Linked DNA regions of Homo sapiens: region 1 is linked to region 2. Evidence: promoter capture Hi-C in human tissues and cell types (Jung and others, 2019). All regions are on one chromosome and are shown on one strand. Each heading gives the region's core, a stretch centred on a gene start or on the middle of the fragment in contact. The rest is flanking DNA. Distances are from core to core; before and after follow the strand shown.

What was found. Contacts are between HindIII fragments. The study calls those that stand out against the background at their distance.
Region 1: a contact is called between the fragment with the promoter of NSMF here and the fragment with the promoter of C9orf163 in region 2, in 1 of the 25 tissues and cell types used here (dorsolateral prefrontal cortex).

The regions. Positions count from the first base shown.
Region 1 is chr9:137,456,773-137,460,671 of GRCh38, forward strand. NSMF (NMDA receptor synaptonuclear signaling and neuronal migration factor) reads right to left here and starts at 2,562. Exons shown (of 16, transcript NM_001130969.3): 1 at 2,260-2,562; 2 at 1,716-1,777; 3 at 635-1,129. The coding sequence starts at 2,330. It overlaps PNPLA7 (patatin like domain 7, lysophospholipase), which reads right to left. Exons shown (of 35, transcript NM_001098537.3): 34 at 3,862-3,899; 35 at 3,180-3,704. The coding sequence ends at 3,621. RefSeq lists an enhancer at 746-1,443 and silencers at 2,083-2,352, 2,443-2,792. The HindIII fragment of the contact is 38,119 bases long and covers 1-3,899 here.
Region 2 is chr9:136,481,175-136,485,643 of GRCh38, forward strand. C9orf163 (chromosome 9 putative open reading frame 163) reads left to right here and starts at 2,321. Exons shown (of 1, transcript NR_172629.1): 1 at 2,321-4,469. SEC16A (SEC16 homolog A, endoplasmic reticulum export factor) reads right to left here and starts at 1,866. Exons shown (of 32, transcript NM_014866.2): 1 at 1,764-1,866. RefSeq lists enhancers at 1,014-1,759, 2,505-3,249 and silencers at 1,489-1,808, 2,039-2,148, 2,219-2,398, 2,549-2,978. The HindIII fragment of the contact is 5,654 bases long and covers 1-2,631 here.

The DNA.
Region 1 (3,899 bases), core at 1,312-3,811, 980 kb after region 2:
CTGTCTCCAGGAGGCCCAGGAAAACAATGCGTCTGTTTCCCTTGGGCAGAAGAGGCTCTGAGGCCTTCTCTGCAGCCCCCATGCTCTAGCTGGAGGCCCTCACCGAGGCTAGAGACCACCTTGCTGAGGGCTGTCCCCTTCCGAGGGCCCCCACAGCCTTTCCCTGATGCCCAAGTGTGGGGACAGTGGAGTGACTTTCTGCCTGGTGGACAAGCTACCACACAACTCAACAACCCTGGGGAAAGATGCCCACTGCCTGGCTGGGCCCCAACAGCTCCCCAGGACTCTCGGAGGGCAGCCCAGTCTCCTGATTAAGCGGTGCTTCCTCCCTACATATCCCTTAAGATCCTCCCAGGCCCCCTCCTCCAGGAAGCACTCCTTGATTGACCTGGTGCTAGCAGGGCGAAAGCGGACTGTGAGGCCTGGCAGATTTTGCTGAGGAGCTGAGGGAGCTCACAGCTCATAGGGTGTGGAGGCCGCAGCAGAAGCCTGCCGGTTTTAATCTTGAGTCCGCTGGCATGCTGTGACCTGAGCACCTGTTCTCTGTTCCAAGCCTCACAGTGGCTGCTGCTGTCAGACCCTGGCAGCGGCATGCACCCCCAAACCTGTCTATGCCCTGACACAAACCCCTCACCAGACACACGGTCAACGCTGTACATCCTCTCCAGCTTCTTGCGGCGACCGGAGGTCTCAGGCAGAGGTGGCTGGTCCAGCCCAAAGGCCCGAGGGGTGGGGCCAGGAGCCAGCTGGGCACATCCGGGGCACTCCTTGGAGCCCTGGCGGCTGCCCGCCCAGCTCTGGCAGGGCCTGCTGACGTCCTCCCGGCTGCCACCAGGGCTGGCGCGCAGGGGCTGGCTGTGATGGTGAGGGTGCCGCTGCCGCCGCCCCTTCACCACCGCCAGCTCAATGGCCTCCGCCTCAGGGCTGGGCAGCAGGGCAGGCTCCCCAGAGATGGTGTACACTCGAGGCTGAGGGCCCTCGCCTGCGGGCTTCCTAATGCTGGGCTCCTCTGAGAGGCTGCCCTCGTAGCAGCCGTTGGAGACGAGGGACAGGCGGCGCTTGTTCTGGGGGGCCGGCTGCATCTCGGGGGACCCGTCGTGGCCAGAGTAGGCATCAGCCAGCAGGTGATCTAGGAGAGACACTGAGTGAGCCTGCCTGCCGCGTGTGGGCCCCCCGCTGCCGGTTTCATAGCAGGCCGAAGGCAGAGAACACCCAGTGGGCACCTGGCCTCTGTGGGGGACTAGGGCTGCCCAAACCCTAGTCACTGGCGTGTTTCTGAGCCCCTCACTCCTATCTGGGCCTGAAGCTCTAGCATGTGCGTGGGGGCTGGGTGACGCTGTGCTACCTGTGTGCGGTCCTGCCGGGTAGGAACACGCAGGCCATCCCCCAGCCTGCGATCGCACCGTTTGCCTGGTGCCAACTTCCCCCTCCCCCCACCAGCTGGCCCCCAGAGGCAGTGGTGCCAGCCCTGGGGGAGCCAGGAGGCCTGTTGCCATGCCAACGGCCCAGGCGGGGTGGGTGCCATGGTGACGAGCGGCTGGGAACTGCTCCTGGGGCTCGGGCAGGGAGGGCAGGGGATGTAAGGAAGCCAGGCCGGCAGGGCGCCGGGCCCACGCGCAACCAATGCCCCTCACGCTCCACCCCCGGAGGCAGGGATCAGCATCCCTTGGGCTGGGGGGTCTGGGCGGCCCTGGCACGGCCTCGCGTGCCCCTACCTGCGCCGTTGCGGTTCTCAGGGTGACTCTGGGACAGGTACTCTCCAAACGCTCGGGCTGCTCTGAGGGTGGACAGAGGGCACGGTCAGAGGCCACGGCACGACCCTCCCAAACACCGGGCCGCGCAAGAGCCGGGGGTCCGGTCCCCAGCCAGGCCCTCGGCGTCTGGAAGGAGGGTCGGGGTCGTCCCCCTCCGGGAGCCCACACACCCTTGGTCCTGGTGCGCCCTGGCCAGGCCTGCAGGCCCGGCCCCTGCCCGTCGGACCGTGGAGAGGGGTCGCGAGGCCGGTCGGCTGCTGTTCCCCGGGGGAACCGAGGCCACTCCCGACCTGGGGGGTGCGCTCGCCCACCACGCGCTCGCGAGGGGAGGGGAGGGAAGAGCAGGGCAGGGGACCAGGAAGAGGGAGGCGCGGGGCGCGGGGAGGGCGCCTCAGTGGCAGAGGCCGGGGCCCGGGAGCCCGGGGAGCACCGCGGGGCAGGGGCGGACTCGGGCGGGGTCGGAGGTCCAGGGCGGGGTGCGGGAAGGCGGCCCCGCCGCACTCACCGCACTTTGGCCGCCACCGAGGACATGGCCTCGCTCCTCAGCGCCCTCCTCCTGGAGGCGGCGGCGCCCATGGTCGAGGCGGCGGCGCATCCCCCGGGCCTCAGAGCGCGCCCCGCGCCCGCCGCCTCCGCCGGGGTAGCCGCGCCGCACCGGGGGTCGCGCTCGGGCTCGGGCTCGGGGTCTCGCTCGGGCTCCGGCTCGGGCTTGGGCTCGGGGTCGGGCTCGGGGTCGGGCCCGGTCCCCGCATGGCCGCACCCGGCGCTCCGCGCGTGCCGCCGCTCCCGGGAGAGCGCTGCCCGAACCGAGGGCCGGCCCCGCCCATCGTGACGTCAGGGCCCGGGCGGGCCCAGAGGGGCGGTCGGCCCCACCTACCGTGACGTCAGGGCCCCGGAGAGCTCGGAGAGGACATGTGGCCCCGCCCACCGTGACGTCCGGGCCCGGGTTGAGTTGGGGGCGGGGCCGGGCGGCCTGGCTCCGCGCCCTCTCGTCCAGGCCTCCAGAGCGGGGAAACTGAGGCCAGCGGCCCCCTGGTCGCAAAGTCCTGGGCCCTCGGCCCTCACGATCTGCTGCTCAGACCTGCAGGATCACAGGGAGGCCGGTTCTCCCTCCCCTTACACAAAAGGGCTCCCTGTGCAGTTTGGGAACTGGAAACCGAAGGGGAAGCCAGTTTAGGGGGCACCCAGTTTGCACGAGGCCAGAGAGAGACAGAGGGGCCCGTCCTGGTCCTGGGGGGCCACAGCTCTATGCAGACTCTGGACGCCCTACCTGCCTGGCCTGCATTTGCCGCCCTAGGGCTCTCAGGCCCCAGCAGTGGGGTCCTTTGAGGAGGACTGGGGACTGCCCAGCCTCAGGGACCACCCGCATCAGGGAGAACCAGTAGTGTTTCTTTGCCACAGGGACCTCGGCCCGGGAGACACGTCCAACAGTGAGATCCACCTTTATTGAAACATCACACGGCAGCATCAGGGCTCCCACACCTCACAGGGCAGCAGGCAGTTCACAGGACAGCAGGCAGTTCACAGGGCTTTGGGGGCCTCACAGGGCAGCAGGTGGTTCACAGGGCTTCGGGGGGCCTCACAGGGCTTCGGGGGGCCTCACAGGGCTGCAGGGGGTTCACAGAGCTTCAGGGGCCTCACAGAGCTTCAGGGGCCTCACAGGACTGCAGGGGGGCTCACAGGGCCCTGTATGCAGGGCTGCTGGTACAAAGAAGAGGCCCAGAGAACCCTAACACAGCCTGGGGCCCCGGGGAAGTCAGGGCTTCCAGCAGGGCAGGTACAGAGGCCCCTAGGACTTGGCAGGAGCCTCAGCCTTGGGGACAGTCCCACGGAAGACGCTGCATCCGGGCTCTTTAGCAGAGGCCTCTACCCGTCCTGGTCAGAGGAGCCCTCAGACAGTTTTGGGAAAGCCAGACTGGGGTGTCGATGCCGCAGTGAGGACTCGTCCTCCTGCAAGCAGACCGCATGTTCCAGGTGAGGACCAGGCAGGGCAGGGGCTCTGCAGCGCTGGTAACCCGGTGGGACCACAGGGAGGGAGTGGCCGGCACAGGGCCAGGCACCAAGGCTCAGCTGTGGGCACCAGGTGGGACCATGCCCAGCTCCTCACCAAGTCTGAGCCCTGCTGGGCTGAGGTGCTCTGGAAGT
Region 2 (4,469 bases), core at 1,071-3,570:
CCCAGGCTGGAGTGCAGTGGCGCGATCTCGGCTCACTGCAGGCTCCGCCCCCCGGGGTTCACGCCATTCTCCTGCCTCAGCCTCCAGCGTAGCTGGGACTACAGGCGCCCGCCACCTCGCCCGGCTAATTTTTTTTTGTATTTTCAGTAGAGACGGGGTTTCACCGTGTTAGCCAGGATGGTCTCGATCTCCTGACCTCGTGATCCGCCCGCCTCAGCCTCCCAGAGTGCTGGGATTACAGGCATGAGCCACCGCGCCCGGCCCAGGGAATTTTATTCTGTAACCTCAAGTCATCTAATTCTTTTATTGTTCCAAAGAGGCCAGCTGATCTTGAAAATGCAGTATTCATAAACCTAGCTAGTCAGTTAAACTGCCTTGTAACCATGTGGATACCTAAGCAAAACTCTTTTTAGTACAGTTCTGGCTACAGAACTGAGGCATTTAAAATGCATGCACACCCCTCTCCTCTTGCTGCCACTGGCTTCATATTTTAAGTGAGGAAAACAATAGTGTGCCAGGAAGCCCCTGAGTTTACCTACTGCCTACAGTCTCCCTCACGGTGGCTGCTAGTGACGCCCTGTCAGACTGTGGGATGCTTGACACAAAGACATGATCAACTCCAACTCTTCTAAGTTAGAATCGCAACCACATACAGTTAGATGTTGAAGAGGAAGCCAGCGACAGAGGAGGCCAGCAGCCTAACACTGATGAAAATGACGAAGACCCTGGTATTCATGAAAGATGCTTACAGAAGAAGAAATCACATTAACATTTACCCACTACCATGACCTCTTGCTGGATTTGGCAAAAAAAGACAAAGAAAAAGAAAAAAAAAGTGCCCACTGCCTCAAAGAAAACTTTAAGTACAATTTTGAGACTCACTGTAGTAACCACTATTAACAGTAAACGAGGAACAAGGAACAAGAAAGACACGCTATTTTGCCTCTTGTCTACAAGATACCAGCACCTGAAACTTAAGAAAGGGGATGAGGAAAAAACGCAGGGAGGCTGCATTGTGCTGAAACTTGCAAAAGTATCACTTCTAGGAAGAACCGTCTGCGGTTCCGTTTGCTTCGTATTGCCACATGGGGGATGGGAAATACCTCTTTGGTTAACATCGGCATCACACATGTAAAACAAAATCTTAATATACAATCCACACCCAACTTACAAGCCATTTAAAAGTGTTCTTAAGCGGCAAAAACTGACTTTAAATGGCTCTGATGTTTCTGAAGGCTCTACTGTAACACTTCCATCACAAAGGGGCGAGCCGGATCACACACACTCCTCTAACCCTCGGCCTCTGTTGCAACATCCTGATCGCCCAATCAAGAAATTACAAACAAACAACTCTGCTCTTTGGTTCAAATGTAAATGTGTCTCTTCACCAGCATCGCTAAGGAAGCCTTCTAGCCGGTGAGGACAAGACACGCTCATTTGAAAAGTTAAGAGTCTTACGAGGGGTGCCTGGGGGTCCAGCCTCCCGCCCCGGGAACCGGCGTCACCGCAGCCCAGCCGGGTCCACGTCAGTCCCTCGAGTCCCACGGCGGCCCGCGCCGCGTCCGGCCTTCCGCTCTGGCCCGGGGGCCCGGACGTCTGTCCCCTCGACCGGCCCCGGCGGGACCCGAGATGCACCGCCCGCTCGGGGCTGGGCCCAGCCGCCTCCTCTCCTCCGCGCCCCGACCTCCACGGCCTGGCTCCGCCGGCCGGCCTCCGCCTTCCTCCTCCCGCGCTCGCCCCCTCACCCGCGCTCGCCCCCTCACCCGCGCGGCTGAGACCGATCCCTCAGGAGCCGCGGGCGAAAGCCCACCCGACGCTGGCGACGAGCACAGACACCTCAGCCGCCGCAGCCATCTTGGCACATCCGGCTCGGGTCTCCGCGGCCGCCGCGCCGCCGACGTGTCCGGCTTACGACATCAGCGCGCGCCCCGCCCCTGGCCCCGCCCCTCGGCTCGTCGGCCCAGACGCGTTCTCTTTCAGCCCTTCACAGCCCATCCCTCGGCCCCGCCCCTCGCCGGCGTCCGTCCTCCCCGCCTCATCCCTCTGTCCCGCCCCCTCTGCCCCCGCCCCTCGCCGGCGTCCGTTCTTCCCCGCCTCATTCTTTCGTCCCGCCCCCCGCCCGTCTTCCACGCCTTATCCTGTAGTTCCCGCTCCCCTTGGCCCCGCCCCTCTTCCGTCGTTCCTCGCCTCATTCTTTCGTCCCGCCCCCTTAGCCCCGCCCGTCGTCCGTCTTTCTCCGCCTCATCCTGTCGTTCCCGCCCCTTTGGCCCCGCCCCTCGGCCGTCCTTCCCCGCCCGTGGCCCCGCCCCCCTCCGGCGTCCGTCTGCCGCCTCACCGCTTGGCCCCGCCCCTCGCCACCTGCCCGGCCAGGCGCGCCGGGGCCGTCCCAGTACGTCGCCCTGTTTACGCTGGCTCTTTCTCCCAGTCTTTTTTCGTTTTAAGATGTGAGAAGAGATGGGATTCTTCAATCAAGGCCACAAGCGGGAAATCAGTCTGCAGGACCGATGCCAGCAGGCTCACGCACCGAGAACGGCTACTCCGCCCAGCTGAGAAGCGCGGGGCCCTGACGCGGGCGCGCTCCTCGCATTCTTCCGTTGGGCTGGGAGGCTGGAGGGCAGGCGGCGGCGGCCGCGCATGCGCCGGGAGCGGCCGGAGCTGCGGGACGCGGAGGGCCGACTGCGCCTGCGCGCTGGTTGCCTGGTTACGGCGTGGCCGCGGGCACCGAGCGGCGCCGGAAGTTGGTCGATGGCTGCCGCCAGTCCCTGGCCAGCGTCCTGGGGTTTCCCCGACGCATCCTCTACTGTCCCTTCGCTCTGCACAGAGGCCCGGGCAGGGAGGGGCGGCCCGGCCACCGCGCGGAGCCGGGTGTCCGCCGACTCGCAAGGGGGACGCGCGGGCTCCTCGTCCCCAAGCTCCGCCCTGCGCCTTTGCTGCGCCGGGCCCTCCCAGGCCCACCCTGGCCCCAGCCCTGCTGTCCTCCCGGGGAGGTGCGGCCTACTCGGTTCGTTCCCCCGGCCGCCAGCCCCACAGGGGCGCTGGGGTCCCAGCCTTGGCTGAGTGCACGTCGGTGGCGAGTGGGCCCGGGCGCTCGGGCGGCCAGAGCGACCCAGCGGAGGGGTGAGGCGGGTAGGCGCTCCTGTGCCTGCCACGGCCAGGCCAGGCAGCATCCACGCCCTCCCGCGGAAGATCGCAGGGAACAGGTGGGCACTATCCTCTGTGCCCTCATTTTTCGGAGGAGCCGAGGGAGGCTGAGCGGTTGAGGAAGCGGCCAGCCATGCCGGGCCCACTCACCTGCACACCTGCCTGGCAAGGGCAGGGAAGAGCCGCGGCCTTCCTCTGCTGCTCCTTCCAGAGGGCAGGCGCCGTGGTGGGGGTGCCCGCCCGATGGCATCGCGGGAGGCTGAGCTCCCAGCAGCGGCTGAGGTCCTCCCTGGGTGGGAGCCACCCTTGTCCCCAGCTGGGCCGGCGGCTGGTGAGGGAGGGGGTGATATCCGTGCCACGCCAGCAGGGCCGCAGGCGGTGCAGGGAGAGCTTCAGTCCGGCTGACGTGGCACCAGGGCCAATCTGCTCAGCTAACATTTGCCTTTCAGGAGTCAGATTCCTGACCTGTTTGAACAGAGTTAGGGAGCACGTGGTAGGGCCCAGCCCCAGCCCCGCTGCCCCCATCTGCTTCTTCCCAGTGGTCGAGGCGCTCTGCACCCTCCGCGGAAGGAGGTGTCATTGTTTGCCCTTTCCAAAGAGGGGGATGCAGAGGTGGATGCTGCCTCTCAGGCGTGGGGCTCGCCTTTTGCCGCTCGCGAGTTCAAAGAACCCAAGAGCCAGGAGCCCAGGGCTCGACCCTCTAGGGTCCTCCGAAACCCTGTGGTCCCACCGGGGTGGGCACTAAGCTATGGGAGAGACCATAGCTGCAGAAACCAACCCTGCCCTAGGCATAAAATGCAAGGTCTCTGGACCTCAGGGCAGGGATGTTAGACAGCGGCTTCTGTTGGCTCCTAGGGGTGTGAATCACCACATCACCTGCAGGGGGCGCGGCTGTCTTTCTTCCCCCTCTTCTCCCTAATCCTGAGTGCACGGAGACAGCTCTCAGCAGTTTGTAGCCTGATGTGGAGTGGAGGGTTCCTGCACCCTACACCCGAGCCCATCCAGCCTCTGGGCCATAGACCCTTCCGTTGAAGGCCCAGCCTGCCCCTGAGACGCTGTGTGCCCTTTTTCAACTTCCTTAGTCTCTGAGCATCAGGTCTTCATCTCTAAGATAGAGCAAGATGAGCACCTAAACGTTTCAGGGCTGAAATGGGGTTGCCAGGACAACAAGCATGGCAGGGGCGAATGGGGACATCAGGTGACTGACTGCGAGCCAGCAGAGGCCTCCACCCAGTGCTGGGAGGTGTCCCGCCGGTGGTGGCCATCACTATTCCTGGTGGGGCTTTGCTGCTTTTGCCTGCAGCATCCGCTGGTTTCTCCATTCTCCA